Linked DNA regions of Homo sapiens: region 2 is linked to region 1. Evidence: promoter capture Hi-C in 16 types of primary human blood cells and fetal thymus (Javierre and others, 2016). All regions are on one chromosome and are shown on one strand. The core of a region is centred on a gene start or on the middle of the fragment in contact, and the rest is flanking DNA. Distances in the headings are between cores, read along the strand shown.

Evidence for each region. The method cuts DNA at HindIII sites, captures the fragments that hold promoters and counts their contacts. A CHiCAGO score of 5 or more calls a contact.
Region 2: a fragment that was not itself captured here is called in contact with the fragment with the promoter of ALDH5A1 in region 1 in 1 of 17 cell types (total B cells); the score reaches 5.1 in total B cells.

Annotation. Positions count from the first base shown.
Region 1 is chr6:24,488,786-24,496,440 of GRCh38, forward strand. It overlaps ALDH5A1 (aldehyde dehydrogenase 5 family member A1), which reads left to right and starts at 6,184. Exons shown (of 10, transcript NM_001080.3): 1 at 6,184-6,565. The coding sequence starts at 6,212. It overlaps GPLD1 (glycosylphosphatidylinositol specific phospholipase D1), which reads right to left and starts at 793. Exons shown (of 25, transcript NM_001503.4): 1 at 630-793. The coding sequence starts at 726. RefSeq lists a silencer at 6,190-6,579. The HindIII fragment of the contact is 3,166 bases long and covers 5,193-7,655 here.
Region 2 is chr6:24,786,602-24,794,256 of GRCh38, forward strand. LOC124901280 (a long non-coding RNA gene) reads right to left here. Exons shown (of 3, transcript XR_007059510.1): 2 at 6,645-6,785; 3 at 6,198-6,266. Among named protein-coding and RNA genes, the nearest start is that of ARMH2, 8.5 kb to the right of the region's middle. The HindIII fragment of the contact is 1,287 bases long and covers 2,072-3,358 here.

The sequences.
Region 1 (7,655 bases), core at 4,934-7,433:
GTGCCATCTCCCTATATCCAGGATGACTCTGCCCTTGCCCCTAAGGTCGGTGGCACTGGCTTGCTGTACCCTTCTGCTCTCCAACTCCTGCCATCTTCCTGGCACCGTGCATGTGGATAACTAAACTCCCTTACTTTCTTGACCTTCCTGAAGCCAAGCACTTTTACAGCAATTTGACTCAGGGACCCACTCCCATGGCCACATATGGCTCTTTACATATACTTGGAAATGCCTGTCCTTGGACATGTAAAAACAACAAAAGTACATTTCTCACTCCTGCCATATTCCACCCATCTTGTTCCTCTCCCATTCTGTCAGTTCTGCTGCCACGTTGCAACCTCTCGTTCACTGAGCCTCTCACTATTTCCCCACCCAGAGAAACACACAGGGGTCCCATGACCAATGGGGCATCAGCTCTCTTTCTTATTTGCCCCTTAACTGAAGTCATGCTGCCAATCCCTATCCCTGGATGACTGCAATCACCGGCTTCTCCTCCCTGCTGTCAGGCCACTCAGCTCAGTGCCCAGGGGAAACTGTATCAATCCACGAGCGGGATTTTCAGTCTCTTCCTTAATGTCTTTGACAGATGTATTGTCCTCTCAACAACATAACAAGACACCAGTACTTACCTATTTCTACGTGTGTTGAAAGGCCACACGGTGAACCTCTATGGCAGAGAGAACCCAACATGATCAGCAGGCCAGGCCACAACCTGAAAGCAGACATGATCTCATTGCCCACCGGCTTCTCTGGTGACGTGGGAATGCTCAGAGCTGCAGCAGCACTGGGACTCCAAAATCCAGGTGCAGACCCACCGCTTCTCTCTAAGCAGGTCACTGACCGAGGAAACCAAGCCTCATTTCAAAATAATATCGTTTTCCAATGAAGTCAACTGTCCAACTACTGTTTAGCTTCACCAGAACAGCAAACAAACTCTGTGCTCCTGGGGGGTGGGGTTGGGAGGATAAACTGAAATCTGAAAAGCCTTAGGCCAGAAGCACTGCATCTTCTGACCGAGGTTTTTTCTGGATTTCATTTTAACATGAAATTTGTGTAGAGATGCAAGCAAAGTTGTCTCCAGATATTTTTTGCTTTCTATAAAAAGGCTCACCTGTGCAGATAGTCAACATATTAGACCACCTCACCTTACAAGGGTGGATCTCTCATGCATCCTTTCTACACATTTATCAGGCTGTCCTGCTTCCTCCGCCTCCCAAGCCACAAGTGCTGGGAAAGTTTTATGGTAATCAGCTGGAACTGGCTTCCTTTTCAGTATTTGGCAACAGATACTGACACTTGTATGGGATTACACAAGAGCAGCCACTCCTGGTCTCTCTACCTCTGGCTGTTCTAATAGGGCTTATCCAGAGCCTGTTGCAAGGTCAGATTCCTGCAGCTGAAGCAAAGATGTCAATTCCACTTGGGAGGTGGAAGGAAGGGGGCAGATTTAGGGCCAAGAAACAGGGTTTGGAAAATGTTAAGCTCACGATATATTATCAGGTACCCACTTACACTTCATCCATGGGAAAAATTAAGCTCTTCATGAAACTGATGGTAATCTTAAAACACAAATTATGCATATTTTACATTAAAAGCAAGAGATGGGCTCCTAAAAGAGTGGGAGGAAATAGTATTCACTTCAGGTTTGCCAAATGAAAGGATGAATAGAAAGTGGGATGATTTGGCTGGGCGTGGCGGCCCACACCTGTAATCCCAGCACTCTGGGAGGCTGAGGCTGGTGGATCACCTGAGGTCAGGAGTTTGAGACCAGCGTGATCAACATAGTGAAGACCCCGTCTCTACTAAAAATACAAAAATTAGCCAGGTGTGGTGGCACGTGACTGTAGTCCCAGCTACTGGGGAGGCTGAGGTGGGAGGATCTCTTGAACCCAGGAGGTGGAGATTGCGGTGAGCCGAGATTGCACCACTGCACTCTAGCCTGGGTGACAGAGCAAGACCCTGTCTCAAAAAAAAAAAAAGAAAAGAAAAAAAGAAAGTGGAATGATTTGACAACAGTTGTCGCCCCAACAGTTTCCCCTGTAAGCTTAACACAGCCATGTGCACAGCCCCAAGGAAAGAAATCCCGCAGCTACCCCCAGACCTGAGGGGCAGTAGGCCCAGCTACTCCTGATTAGTCCAGAGGCCATATGCCTACGTGTTTTGTTTGGCTAACAGGATGTTTTATAAACTTAAATCAAGTTTATGAACTTTTTCTAAATGAGAAAATTCACGTAGAAATCTAGATTTCTGGCTCTCTTAAAAACAAAAGAACTGGCATCATGAACTGACGCTCCCATGTGACACGACAACCAGCTGCAGCCAAAGAGCCAGCTGCCCCCTGATAGAGCATGTCCTGCTCCTCCAGTCCCCACCATCCATGCAATGTGTGCAGGTTTCCACACCCCTTCTGGCCACCAGAGGCCTTTGAGTTTGCCTCCCTGTCACTCTGGGCCTTCTACAGACTGTGCGTGAGGGAGTCACAATTATTAATTGGGACTTTGGATATTGTCTCTCAGAACATCCAAGAGCAGTCAATCAATGGTTACAGGGGAAAAAAATACTGCTAGAAAAGATATCTAACCATATATAATACAACAAACCCATCCAAAAAGCACCAAAGAAATGGGTTCAGAACAGGTGTGGTGGCTCACGCCTATAATCCCAGCACTTTAGGAGGCCAAGGCGGGCAGATGGCTTGAGGCCAGGAGTTCAAAACCAGCCTGTGCAACATGGCAAAATCCCGTCTCTACCAAGAAAAAAACAAAAACAAAAATTAGCCGGGCATGGTGGCATGCACTTATGGTCCAAGCTACTCAGGAGGCTGAGGCGGGAACATCGCCTGTACCTGGGAAGTGAAGGTTGCAGTGAGCTGAGATCACACCACTGCACTCCAGCCTGGGCAAGACCCCACCTCAAAAAAAAAAAAGGAATGGGTTCAGTTACCAAACAATACTAATCCCAAATGTCTCAATTTCTCATTATGCATTTTTTTGTATTTGAGATTCAGAATGACATAAACGTATAAATGTAATAAAATAAGAGGAAATTATTTGCTTAGTGTGATAGTTATGAATATGGTCTTTATATGACAATATTGCTTGCAGTTTTATGAAGTTTGTATTACTTTGGTAACAATAAAAACATCAAAGATATGACTTTAAAGAAAGTTAAAACGTAGCTCACAATATTACTATCTGACAAATAATAAGCATATGGAAATATTTTTCTTTCTGCCCCACACCCCCCTTTCCTAATATAGGTGGCTTTGTTATAAACAAGACAGCATGATTCTACCATTTAGAACTCTTCTGGAAATAGAGACCCAAGGTGAAAAGTAAACATACAGTTACATTAAGGAGTGAGTAGGGAGAATACAGGTTTGAAAGCCAGAGGGTCTCAAGCTTTATGTGGGCCAGTCTAGAAAATGGGGGAGAAGAGGCTGGGCACAGTGTCTCATGCCTGTAATCCCAGCACTTTGGGAGGCCGAGGTGGGCAGATCACCTGAGGTCAGGAGTTCAAGACCAGCCTGGCCAACATGGTGAAACCCCATCTCTACTAAACAATACAAAAATTAGCCAGGCATGGTGGCGCGCACCTGTACTCCCAGCTACTCTGGAGGCTGAGGCAGGAGAATCACTTGAACCCAGGAGGCAGACGTTGCAATGAGCTGAGATCGTGCCATTGCACTCCAGCCTGGGCGACAGAGTAAGACCCTGACTCAAAAAAAAAAAAAAAAAAAAAAGTGAAAGAAAAAAAAGAAAAAGAAAATGGGGGAGAGGATGAATAAGGGTGGGAACTGGGGAGTGGAGGTTCCCAGGACAAGGGCAGCCAAAGGAGAAAGGAGGGAAGAGGTCCCTCTCACCTGATGGTCTTGTCCTTGTAGGCCCTGGTAAGGACAGACACCCAGCCAGGCGCTAGGGGGCATCAGGACAGGCTGGAAGTAAGACAGGAGCCAGGAGGAAATTGTTTACACTCTGAATGGGGGCTTGAAGAGGGGCACAAAACTGAGGGAAAAGGGGAGGGCCACATTGTGAACTTTCTAAGCTCCAGGCGCTTTTGCCTTTGTGAAGTACTTCCTGTCACAAAAATAAGTAAACAATAAATAGAAATCACATTTTACATCTGCATTGGTGTAAGATTAACATATTAATATGCCACCTAAAACTTCTTTTCTTCAGATTTTAGAATAAATTAAACATTTGTGAGTGCTCCTAAAAGTTTTATGGGCCCTTGGCATCGTACCTACTGTGCGTAATGGATAAGTCATCTGGGAAAGGGAGTGGGTACCGTTTGAAATAGAACCTTAAAAAGGTAAGTGGGCTAGGGTAATTTTTGAACAAGAGAGGCAGCCACAATTAACTTGGCTTTTCTGGGCCTCAGTTGATTGAGGCCTCAATTGAATGATTTCCCCAGGCCAGTAGAAATGAGCCCTGTAATCCCAGCACTTTGGGAGGCCAAGGAGGGCGGATAACTTGAGGTCAGGCATTCAAGACCAGCCTGGCCAACACGGTGAAAACCTGTCTCTACTAAAAATACAAAAATTAGCTGGGCTTGGTGGCACACACCTGTAGCCCCATCTACTCGGGAGGCTGAGGCAGGAGAATCGCTTGAACCCGGGAGGCGGAAGTTGCAGGGAGCTGAAATCGCACCACTGCACTCCACCCTGGGTGACAGAATGAGTCTGTCGGTCTCACAAGAACAAAACAAACAAAAAACAAAAACCACCACCAAAAACAAAACAAAACAAAAACAAAAACTCCCTCCGCAGGCAGGAGATGTAAACACGCCAGCTCCCCAGCCCCACCTGTGATACCTACTGGCCCACATCCCTATTAGGACTCCCTGGTTCTCCCCAGTTCCTGCAATAAAATACAGAGCAAAATAGTGTGAAATTGATTAAACTCTACTGTTATCACTTCTGCCATATGTGACTGGCTCAAAACTCAATGGATCTGACTCAGCAAAAGACAAAGTCAAAATTTAAAGTTACTGCCTCGGCATTTTGCAAATGTCCTAGAAAAAAATTCAACGTCCTAGAAAAAGGTGAAAGCTAGCAAGATACTCTCAACGCTGTAGGAGTTGAGAAAGGGAGATATGTAACCTAAAATCAATGCATAGGGCTGGGCTTCATTTGCACCCACAAATTCCCAGCATACGCCTGCTATTTTTATTTTTATCCTCATTAGGTTTTAAGCTTCCCTGCTGCTTTCAGAGTCTTAAGCCCAAGTCTAATTTTTTAACGGATGAAGAATGCTGTTTAAAGGTGCTCAAATACCTTGGTTGGATAGTATGCTCAATCCTTATACCTTGGTTGATTCAATTTTGACAAATGCTTCCATTTACTAGTTGGTGACCCAACTTTAATCTTACTAGTGGCTTGACTAGGGTAGCTAGTATGACTTTGAACGCTATATTGAATTTAATGTGGCAACTGTAATGAGCATTTTACGTTATCTCACAACAAAATGGGGTAGATATGGTTCTATTTTATAAGTGACTGGACTAAGGTTAACCTGTCGGTCACACAGCTTGTCGGCAACAGACTTGAGTTTGGATCCTAGTCTGTTTATTTCCAAAGCGCTGTTATTTATCGGGAGCAACCCTAGGAGAATGCCTAGACACACACCCAAAAAAGCAGCCAGGCAGCAGAACGCGGGGTCACACTTCGACCCCTCAGAGAACGATCGCTCCCAATCAATACTACGTGCTCAGGAGCTACAACTGAAGAAGCGTGATCACGGCCTTGGCATTTAGGGCAGGCACCAGCGCATCTATGGACCGCGCACAAATTCCGGGGATGCCGAATTTGGGGGATGCTAAGGGGAGAGAGTGGGTCTCTAGCAGCGATTGGGGGCTCAGGAGCAGTTAGTGACAAATGAGCACCCGAAAAGTGAAAAGGTGACAGCAGTCCGCAGGTGCATCTACTGGCGAGCCTTCTCCATCCCCGAACCCAACCCTCCCCCGGGAGAAGGTCGCGCCAGGAGAGAAGCCGCGCGGCGCTTAGGGCAAGGTGCAGAGGGCGGCGCGGCGGTGCAGCGAGAAAGACGCGGAGAGAGGGCGCTGCTCTGTGGCTCTGCAACCTTCCGCCAGCTCCCACGCTTTCCCCGCGCGTCCCCGGCGCCTCCTCGCTCCTCTTGCTTCCCCGCGACCCCTGCGTTCCCGTGCGCGCGCGCCCGCTTGCCTGTTTCCTGTCGCCGTCGTTGCCCGGGCCATGGCGACCTGCATTTGGCTGCGGAGCTGTGGGGCCCGGCGCCTCGGGTCGACGTTTCCAGGCTGCCGCCTCCGCCCCCGCGCCGGCGGCCTGGTCCCTGCCTCCGGGCCTGCGCCCGGCCCGGCCCAGCTCCGCTGCTACGCTGGGCGCCTGGCGGGCCTCTCTGCGGCGCTGCTGCGCACCGACAGCTTCGTGGGCGGCCGCTGGCTCCCGGCCGCCGCCACCTTCCCCGTGCAAGACCCGGCCAGCGGCGCCGCTCTGGGCATGGTAGCCGACTGCGGGGTGCGAGAGGCCCGCGCCGCCGTGCGCGCTGCCTACGAGGCTTTCTGCCGCTGGAGGGAGGTCTCCGCCAAGGTGAGAGAGCCCGGATGCAGGGGGCCAGAGCTGGCCGGGGACACGGCGGGGAGCAGAGGGGGCTTTACCCCAAAGTGACACCAGCCGCGTCGCCTCCCTCCTGTGCTCAGTTCCCCAGGGTATACAAAGTGGAAAGTCAGAGCAACAAGGGAGACGACCGACAAATAAGTTTGGAGCTTCCACTTTGAGCCGGGCACTAGGGACACGACCCCTGCCCTCAAGCCTCATCAAGTTATGCACTGCCCAGTAGGGGAGGCAGAACGTGAGCGCCTAATACAAGCGAGCTGCTTGTTATGGTCAACAAGCCTAACCGTGGAGGGGCGGGGAGAAAGGGGAGGGGTGTCAGGGAAGTGAGAGCACGTGTGGCCCTTCAGAGTAGCTGAAATATCTCCGCAGCTGCAGGGAGCCCACGCAGGAGGCTGCTTCAGCGGCCCTTGAGAAGGCTGGTAGTGAGGGCCCCTGGCCAGAATCATGGGATCGGAAACGGAGAGAACTGTAGAAAGATTTGGGTTTTGTGCAGGGGAAGAGAGAAATCCAGGAGCGTTCTCCAGGTTTTCACCCTAAATGGATAAATGCTGCTATTGGCCATTGCATAGAGAACACTGGAGAATTGGGAGTAAGGGGTGGAGGGCCATTAAATGGGAAGAATAGAGTAAGAAGAAAACTAAGAAAGTAGTTTCTTCCTTCTAATATTATATTATTAAACCTGGAGTCAACGCAGTGAAATTTTTTACCGTGTCCTTCAAAGCTCTCCCTCTGAAGGAATGCATCCAGCGATCCCTACGAGTACAAGAGAGTCTTAGCACTCATTCATCCATCAGCTGTTTACTGAGCACCTGCTGTATGCCCTGCACTGTTGGAGGTGCTTGGGATACCTCAGTTAAACGAAAGAAGGATTCTGCCCTTATGGAGCTCACATGGGGTGGAAGGGGAGCAGAAGAGAGATCAGAACTCTAAACAACAAACATAATATCTAAGCAAATAAGTATGTGAGAGATGCTGAGTGCAATATGGAAAAAAGGTAGAAGCAGGAGAGGATCCGGGCCAGAGGGAAGGGGCAAGATGCAGCATCAACAGTGTGACCAGGCAT
Region 2 (7,655 bases), core at 1,465-3,964, 290 kb after region 1:
GGGTATGTAGCATTGGAACTGAAAAAGTTCTGTGAGAGGCATACAAGTAGTTTTGTATAAATTGGCAATAAAGAGCAATGTCATGCTTTTATTTTTTTTCCTTTGAGACGGAGTCTTGCTCTTGTTGCCCAGGCTGGAGTGCAATGGCATGATCTTGGCTCACTGCAACCTCTGCCTCCCTGGTTCAAGTGATTCTGCCTCAGCCTCCTGAGTAGCTGCGATTACAGGTGCCTGCCACCACACCTGGCTAGTTTTTGTATTTTTAGTAGAGCCGGGGTTTCACCATGTTGGCCAGGCTGGTCTCGAACTCCTGACCCCAAGTGATCCGCCCACCTCAGCCTCCCAAAGTGCTGGGATGACAGGTGTGAGGCACCACGCCTGGCCTCAAGCTTTTGAAAGGATTGTTTTAGGTAAGCATCCTTATAGAACCTTAATTTTCTCTCTCTGTCACCCAGGCGGGAGTGCAGGGGTGCAATCTCAGCTCACTTCAGCCTCCACCTGATGGGCGCAAGTCATCTTCCCACTTCAGCCTCCCAAGTAGCTGAGACTACAGGTGCGTGCCACCACACCTGGCTAATTTTTTATATAGACGGGGTTTCGCCATGTTGCCCAGGCTGGTCTTGAATTCCTGGCATCAAGCGATCCGCCTGCTTCGGCCTCCAGAGTGTTGGGATTACAGGCGTGAGCCACCGTGCCTGGCCTTAATTTTCTTTAATACTGAGATAAAGCCTACCTCATAGTGTTATCGTGAAGATTAAAACCTTTAGTGTCTAGGCTAAGTGTCTTAAAAATGGAAGCTATTATTAATCTATAACAACATTGTCCAGTAGAACTTATTGGGATGATGAGAATATCTGCTGTACAGTATGGTAGCCATTTCTGTGTGGCTGTTTAGCACTTGAAGTGTGGCTAGTGTGAATGAGGTATGGACATTTTAATTTAAGTCACTACAAGAAGCTAGTGGCAATTACGTTAGTGTGGCTCTGTGTGTTTCAGGTGTGGATCACTAGCCTAAAGATAGGATTAATAGGTAAATTAATTTTAAAGGAATTGAAGAATATTCTGGATTAGAGCATGAGGAGACTCAGTTGAGAGGCCTTTAGCATGGTTAAGAAAGAAAATAGGTAAGTAGAATAGGGACTTGACAAATAGAAAGTATTTTTGTAAAATGCCAGAATTTGATGGTGGGGAGCAAAAGGAGAGGGAATTGAAGGGGATTAAAAAACTAAGGTAGTAGCTAAAACCATAAAACTTCTAGATTATATAGAAAAGTTCTTAGTGACTTTGGGTTTGGCAGAGAGTTCTCAAATAGGACACAAAAAAGCATCAACTTCAAATTAAACGTTGTAAATTTTAAAAACTTTTTGAAAGACAAGCAAATGAAAAGGCAAGAACAGACTGGGGGAACATATTTGCAGAACATAGCCAACAAAGGATTTGTATCTATAAAGAACTAGGGTATGTATGAGATGGAAACTAAGTGCATGAAAAGATGCTCAACATTAGTCATTAAGGAAGTGCAAATTAAATGACAACCAGATACTGCTACATACCTTTCAGAATTGTTTTAAGTTTGAAAAATAAAAACAACTCCATCGAGTGTTAAGGATGTGAAACATCTGAAACCCTCCTGCAGTGGTGGTGGCAGTGCTAAATGCTACAACTGCTGTGGAAAAGTTGAACAATTCCTTAAAAGTTATACATACACATTTTATATGACTCAGCCATTCCACCCCTGGGTATTTACCCAAGAGAAACGAAAGCATATGTCCACATGAAGACTAGTTCACACATTTTCATAGCTTTATTTGTAATAGCCCAAATATCCATTGGTAACTGAGTGGATAAATTATGGTATAACTATACAGTGGAATACTATTTAGCAATAAAAAGGGGACAAAAATTGGTACACGCCACATGGACGAATCTCAATGTTGTGTGAAAGAAGCCAGGTAAATACATACTGTATGCTTCTATTTATTTAAAATCACAAAACTACAAAGTATAATGAGAAAGCAGATTAGTAGTTGCCTAAGGGTCATGTAGGGGCTGTTTTGGGGGACATATTTTAAGCTTCTAGTCCCTGGGAACTGACCCTAGTGATGGAGAATTTGTAGGAATTTCCTGTGGAAGATGAGTCTGATTTTTAATTAGGTATCAAATGTTAGTATAGCATGTCAGCCGGGTGTGATGGCTACGCCTGTAATCCCTACACTTTGGGAGGCTGAGGCAGGCAGATCACTTGAGGACAGGAGTTCAACATCAGCCTGGCTAACATGGCAAAATGCTTTGTCTACTAAAAATACAAAAGATTAGTTGGGCGTGGTGGTGCACACCTGTAGTCACAGCTCTTCGGGAGGCTGAGGCACACAAGAATTGCTTGAATCTGGGAGGCAGAAGTTGCAGTGAGCATAGATTGCGCCACTGCACTCCAGCCTCGGCAACAGAGTGAGGCTCTGTCTCAACAAAACAAAAAACATGTCAATGAAAATACCTTGGAGAAGGGGTCAGGGAGTCAATCAAGCCTGGCCCATTAGAACAAGTTCTTTGAAGTTGGTTTAATAAAATGCAGTCGAGCTTCGTTAAGGAAATGGCAAATGGATAAGAATCAGTTGGAAAAACAGTATGCATGAAGCCTGGATTAGACTGAACTAATTTGTCAATATATTTTACAAGGCTAGCATAACTGATATCAAGATTTGAGGATGGACCAGCCAGGTGTGGTGGCTTATGCCTGTAATCCCAGCACTTTGGGAGGCCCAGGTGGGCAGATCACCTGAGGTCAGGAATTCAGGACCAGCCTGACAAACATGGTGAAAACCTGTCTACTAAAAATACAAAATTAGCCAGGCGTGATGGTGCATGCCTGTAGTCCCAGCTATTTGGGAAGCTGAGGCAGGAGAATTGCTTGAACCCAGGAGGTAGAGGATGCAGTGAGCCAAGGTCGCGTCTTTGCACTCCAGCCTGGGCAACGAGCGAAACCTCATCTCAAAAAAAAAAAAAAAAAAAAAAAAAAGAAGGTAATGAGGATGGACCGTAAGGTTGGAGTAGGGGAATCTAGAGCCTTATTAATACAGATTGAAAAATCATAAATAAAATGGCAAGTCTAATCTACTAAAAGATAAAACGATGACCAAGTTAGGGTTTATCTCAGGAATGCAAGACTGCTATAATATTAGTAAACATGAAGTTCTTTATATTAAAGGGGAAAAAGCATATCATCTTAATAGATGGTAAAATAGCATTGATAAAATTCAACACCCTTTCTGGTAAAAACCCTTGGTAAGCTAGGAAAAGAAAAGAATTTTAACCTGAAATAAACTATGCTACCCATGCTTAACATAATGCTTAATGGTGAAGCTTTGGAATTAGTTTCAAGGTCAAGAGCTAGAAAAGGATGGACCACAATTATTTCCAATTCTTTTGGAGGTGGATGCAATGAGACCAAATAAAGGATAATTATAGGAAGGGAAGAGAAAAGCTAATCCAAGAGCAGATAGAAATGAATTTTAAGACTACACCATGGGTAAGATATCTCCCCCAAATAAACTGACGTGTTATTAGAAGAAAGAATAAATTCTAGTGAGCCAAAACGCAACAAACGTCCACCACACTGCCTTACGGCCCTCGTAATTTTGGTTTGTTTAGAAAACTTCCTTGCCTATCCCACACCCTTCAAGATATTTCAGTTGACTTTTAGGTTGTAACTAATTAGGTTGTTAGGTCAACCAAGAAGGATAAGAATTGGTGTATACATATCTGAGCTCCTTGGGACCTCTGGATGAAATAATTCTTAAGGCATGTGTGTTGTGTGTTTACCAGATGGTTCCCCAGCAGGATTAAGCTTCCGTTTACCTACAGTGGCAGCTTTCTTCATAATACATCTTTTATTGGCTTTCTTCCCTTCCCTATTGCTAGTTCCCGAGATCACCTCCCAAATAATATCTTTCAAATCCTTAAGCAAATCCTCTGATTTGCTTCTAGCAAAACTCAAAAGTTGGGAGAGATGAACTTAGGAGGGACAGCAAAGGAAAACAAAATCACTGTTGTTAAAGCTTTGGTAAGCCAGCTTAAAATTCAAGGTTTACAGTAAAAATGCCTCAGCTCGAATCTGAACCTTGTATCTTACCTCCTTCAACTTAAAGAGGTTCCAGAGACCAAAAAGGAATTTGAATAGAACATATTATTAGACTACCTTATAAGCTAATCTTCTGTAGATAAAATGTTAACCAAAATTTCTGTAAACATTGTCACAGAGAGGCCTTCAGCAATTTCTGGTTAAACATGTTAATTGAACAGAGCCATTTAATTTCTGTCTTTCCCAAACATTATTAAAATGACAGTAAGCTGTAAAAAACATCATAATCCCGTGCTGACCAAGCAGAGTCAACAGAAGTTGAGGCAAAAGTCACAATGCAGGGAACAGAATAAAACAAAAGCAAACGATGTAAGTATGGCTAAGCAATTCCATTTCTAGAAATTTATTCAACAGATATGCTCACACATGTGAAATTACACATATTTAAGGTTATTCATTACAACTTTGAACTATCAAAATATTGGAAATAACTTAAATGTTCATCAGTATAGGACTGGTTGTATAAATTACAGTTCACCCTTGAACAAGGCAGCCATTAGGGAAGCCAACACCTGTGCAGTTGAAAATCTGCATATAAATTTTTCTTTTCTTTTTTTTTTTTTTTTTTTTGAGACAGTCTCAGCTCTGTCGCCCAGGCTGGAGTGCAGTGGCACCATCTCAGCTTACTGCAACCTCCGCCTCCTGGGTTCAAGAGATTCTCCTGCCTCAGCCTCCCGAGTACCTGTGACTACAGGCGCGTGCCACCACGCCTGGCTAATATAAATTTTCTTTGGCTATCTTCTGCTTTTAAAATTTAGATAATTTTTCTTTTTTCTTTTTTTTTCTTTTTTTGAGATGGAGTCTGGCTCTATCACCCAGGCTTGCGTGCAGTGGTGTGATCTTGGCTCACTGCAACCTCTGCTTCTGGCTTCCAGTGATTCTCCTGCCTCAGCCTCCCGAGTAGCTGGGATTACAGGCACACACCACCATGTTTGGCTAATTTTTGTATTTTTAGTAGAGATGGGGGTTTCACCATGTTGGCCAGGCTGGTCTCAAACTCCTGGACTCAGGTGATCTGCCCACCTCAGCCTCCCAAAGTGCCAGGATTGCAGGCGTGAGCCACCACACCTGACCTAGATAAATTCTCTGTTTTGAAATTGTTATTTGAGACGGTCTCACTCTGTCACCTGGAGTGCAGTGGCACAATTTTGGCTCACTACAACCTCTGCCTCCTGGGCTCAAGCGATCCTCCTGCCTCAGCCTCCCAAGTAGCTGGGACTATAGGCACACACCACCACACCTGGCTGATTTTTTTTGTAGAGATGTCTCACTATGTTGCCAAGACGGGTCTCGAACTCCTCGATTCAAGCAATCCTCCCATCTAGGCCTCCCAAAGTGTTAGGATTACAGGCATGAGCCCCACCCCACCCGGCTGAAATTAGTTTTTTATTTGAGGCAAGGTCTTATGTTTTTTAGGCTGGGCTCAAGTGATCCACCTGCTTCAGTCTTACAGGTAGCTGAGATTACAGGCATGCCACTATGCTCAGCCTTGCATATAATTTTTTACTCTCTCAAAACTTAATGATTAGCCTAATGTTGACTGGAAGCCTTGCTGATAATATAAACAGTTGATTAACACATATTTTGTATGTTATATGTATTATATCCTGTGTTGTTGTTTTTTTTGTTTTTTGTTTTTTGAGACGGAGTTTCGCTCTGTTTACCAGGCTGGAGTGCAGTGGTGCGATCCGCAACCTCCGCCTCCTGGGTTCAAGCGATTCTCCTGCCTCGGCCTCCTGAGTAGCTGGGACTACAGGCACACACCACCATGCCCGGCTAATTTTTGTATTTTTCGTAGAGATGGGGTTTCACTATGTTGGCCAGGATGGTCTCGATCTCCTGACCTCATGATCCACCCTCCTCGGCCTCCCAAAGTGCTGGGATTACAGGCGTGAGCCACTGCACCCGGCCTATATCCTGTGTTCTTACAATAAAGTAAGGTAGAGAAAAGAATTAAGCCGATCATAAAGAAGAGAAAATATTTTTTACTATTCATTAAGCAGAAGTGGTTCATCATAAGGGTCTTCATCCTCATCATCTTCATATTGAGTAGGCTGAAGGGGAGTCTCGGTGGCAGACTAGCTGTCTCGGGTGGCCGAGGCAGAAGAAAATCTTCATATAAGTGGACCTGAGCAGTTCAAACCCATATTGTTCAAGGGTCAACTGTATAGTACAGTCATACAATGAAATACTCTGAAGCAATGGAAAAGAATCAAACTCTTTAAGATGTAGAACAAAGTGTGAAATAAATTATGTATGTATAGAATGCTACTATATGTTAAAACAAGGACGACGTAAGGGATAGATGTATATTTTCTTATATATAGAAAGAATACTTCTGGAAAGATACAGAAGAAGCTACTTCTTTTCTTTTTATCCTTACATGAATTGATACATTTTAATTGGTTGCATATATGCTTCTTTTCCATATCTAATGTTTTCTTCCTGGAGTAGGAATCTCCAATAGCTGCAACACTCCTGGTTTTAGTGGAGATGAGGGACTTACCTGATTAGTGACTTTGGGAAGAATAGCCCTCAGGTGCTTGCCTCAGCTCTTCCCTTCTTCTTCTGGGGAGTGAGGGCTTGCACAGAGCACTGATGTTCTCAGCTGCTTCTCTTGGTTCAGGGACAGGCTGAAGTCAAATTACTAATCAAGTGAAGAATAAAGACATCACTGGACATGCAAATGCTCAAAACATTTACCTCCCCTTCATTCTTTCTCTGGAAACTACTGAAAAATTTTGAAATTAAAATGTTGGAATGAACCAGGAAAAGGGAAGAGAGAGTATACAGGAAACAGAGGCTTCAAGATGAGAGGGGTAATGGGGGGTCCTGGATGTTGAAGGGAACCCCTAAAATACTGTATTTGTTAGCTAAGGGCAGGCCCAGATTGGAGCAAGAGGATGGTGGAGCCGGAGCTGACAGTTACTCAGTGCATGATTGTGTTGAGAGATGTTAGACATATAGAGGAAAGTGTGGGAATAAAGTAGTGATAGGTATTCAGAAAACTAAGTAAAAAAACAAACTCCAGCCGGGCGTGGTGGCTCACGCCTGTAATCCCAGCACTTTGGGAGGCGGAGGTAGGTGGATCACGAGGTCAGGAGTTTGAGATCAGCCTGGCCAATATGATGAAACCCCATCTCTATTAAAAATATGAAAAAATTAGCCAGGCGTGGTGGCACGTGCCTGTAGTCCCAGCAGCTTGGGAGGCTGAGATGGGAGAATCACTTGAACCTGGGAGGCGGAGGTTGCAGTGAGCCGAAATCGTGTCACTGCACTCCAGCCTGGGCGACAGAGCGAGACTCCCATCTCAAAAACAAAACAAAACAAAAACTACAGAGAAAACAGAGCTGTGGAAAGAAGGAAGTGTAATCATAATATCCTGTATGACTTAGCCTTGAAAAATATTGAATTAATCTTATTTGGTTTTAATGTATTTATTTATAACAGAGATGGGTCTTGCTATGTTACCCAGGGTAGTCTCAAACTCTTCGCCTCAAGCAGTCCTCCCACCTCA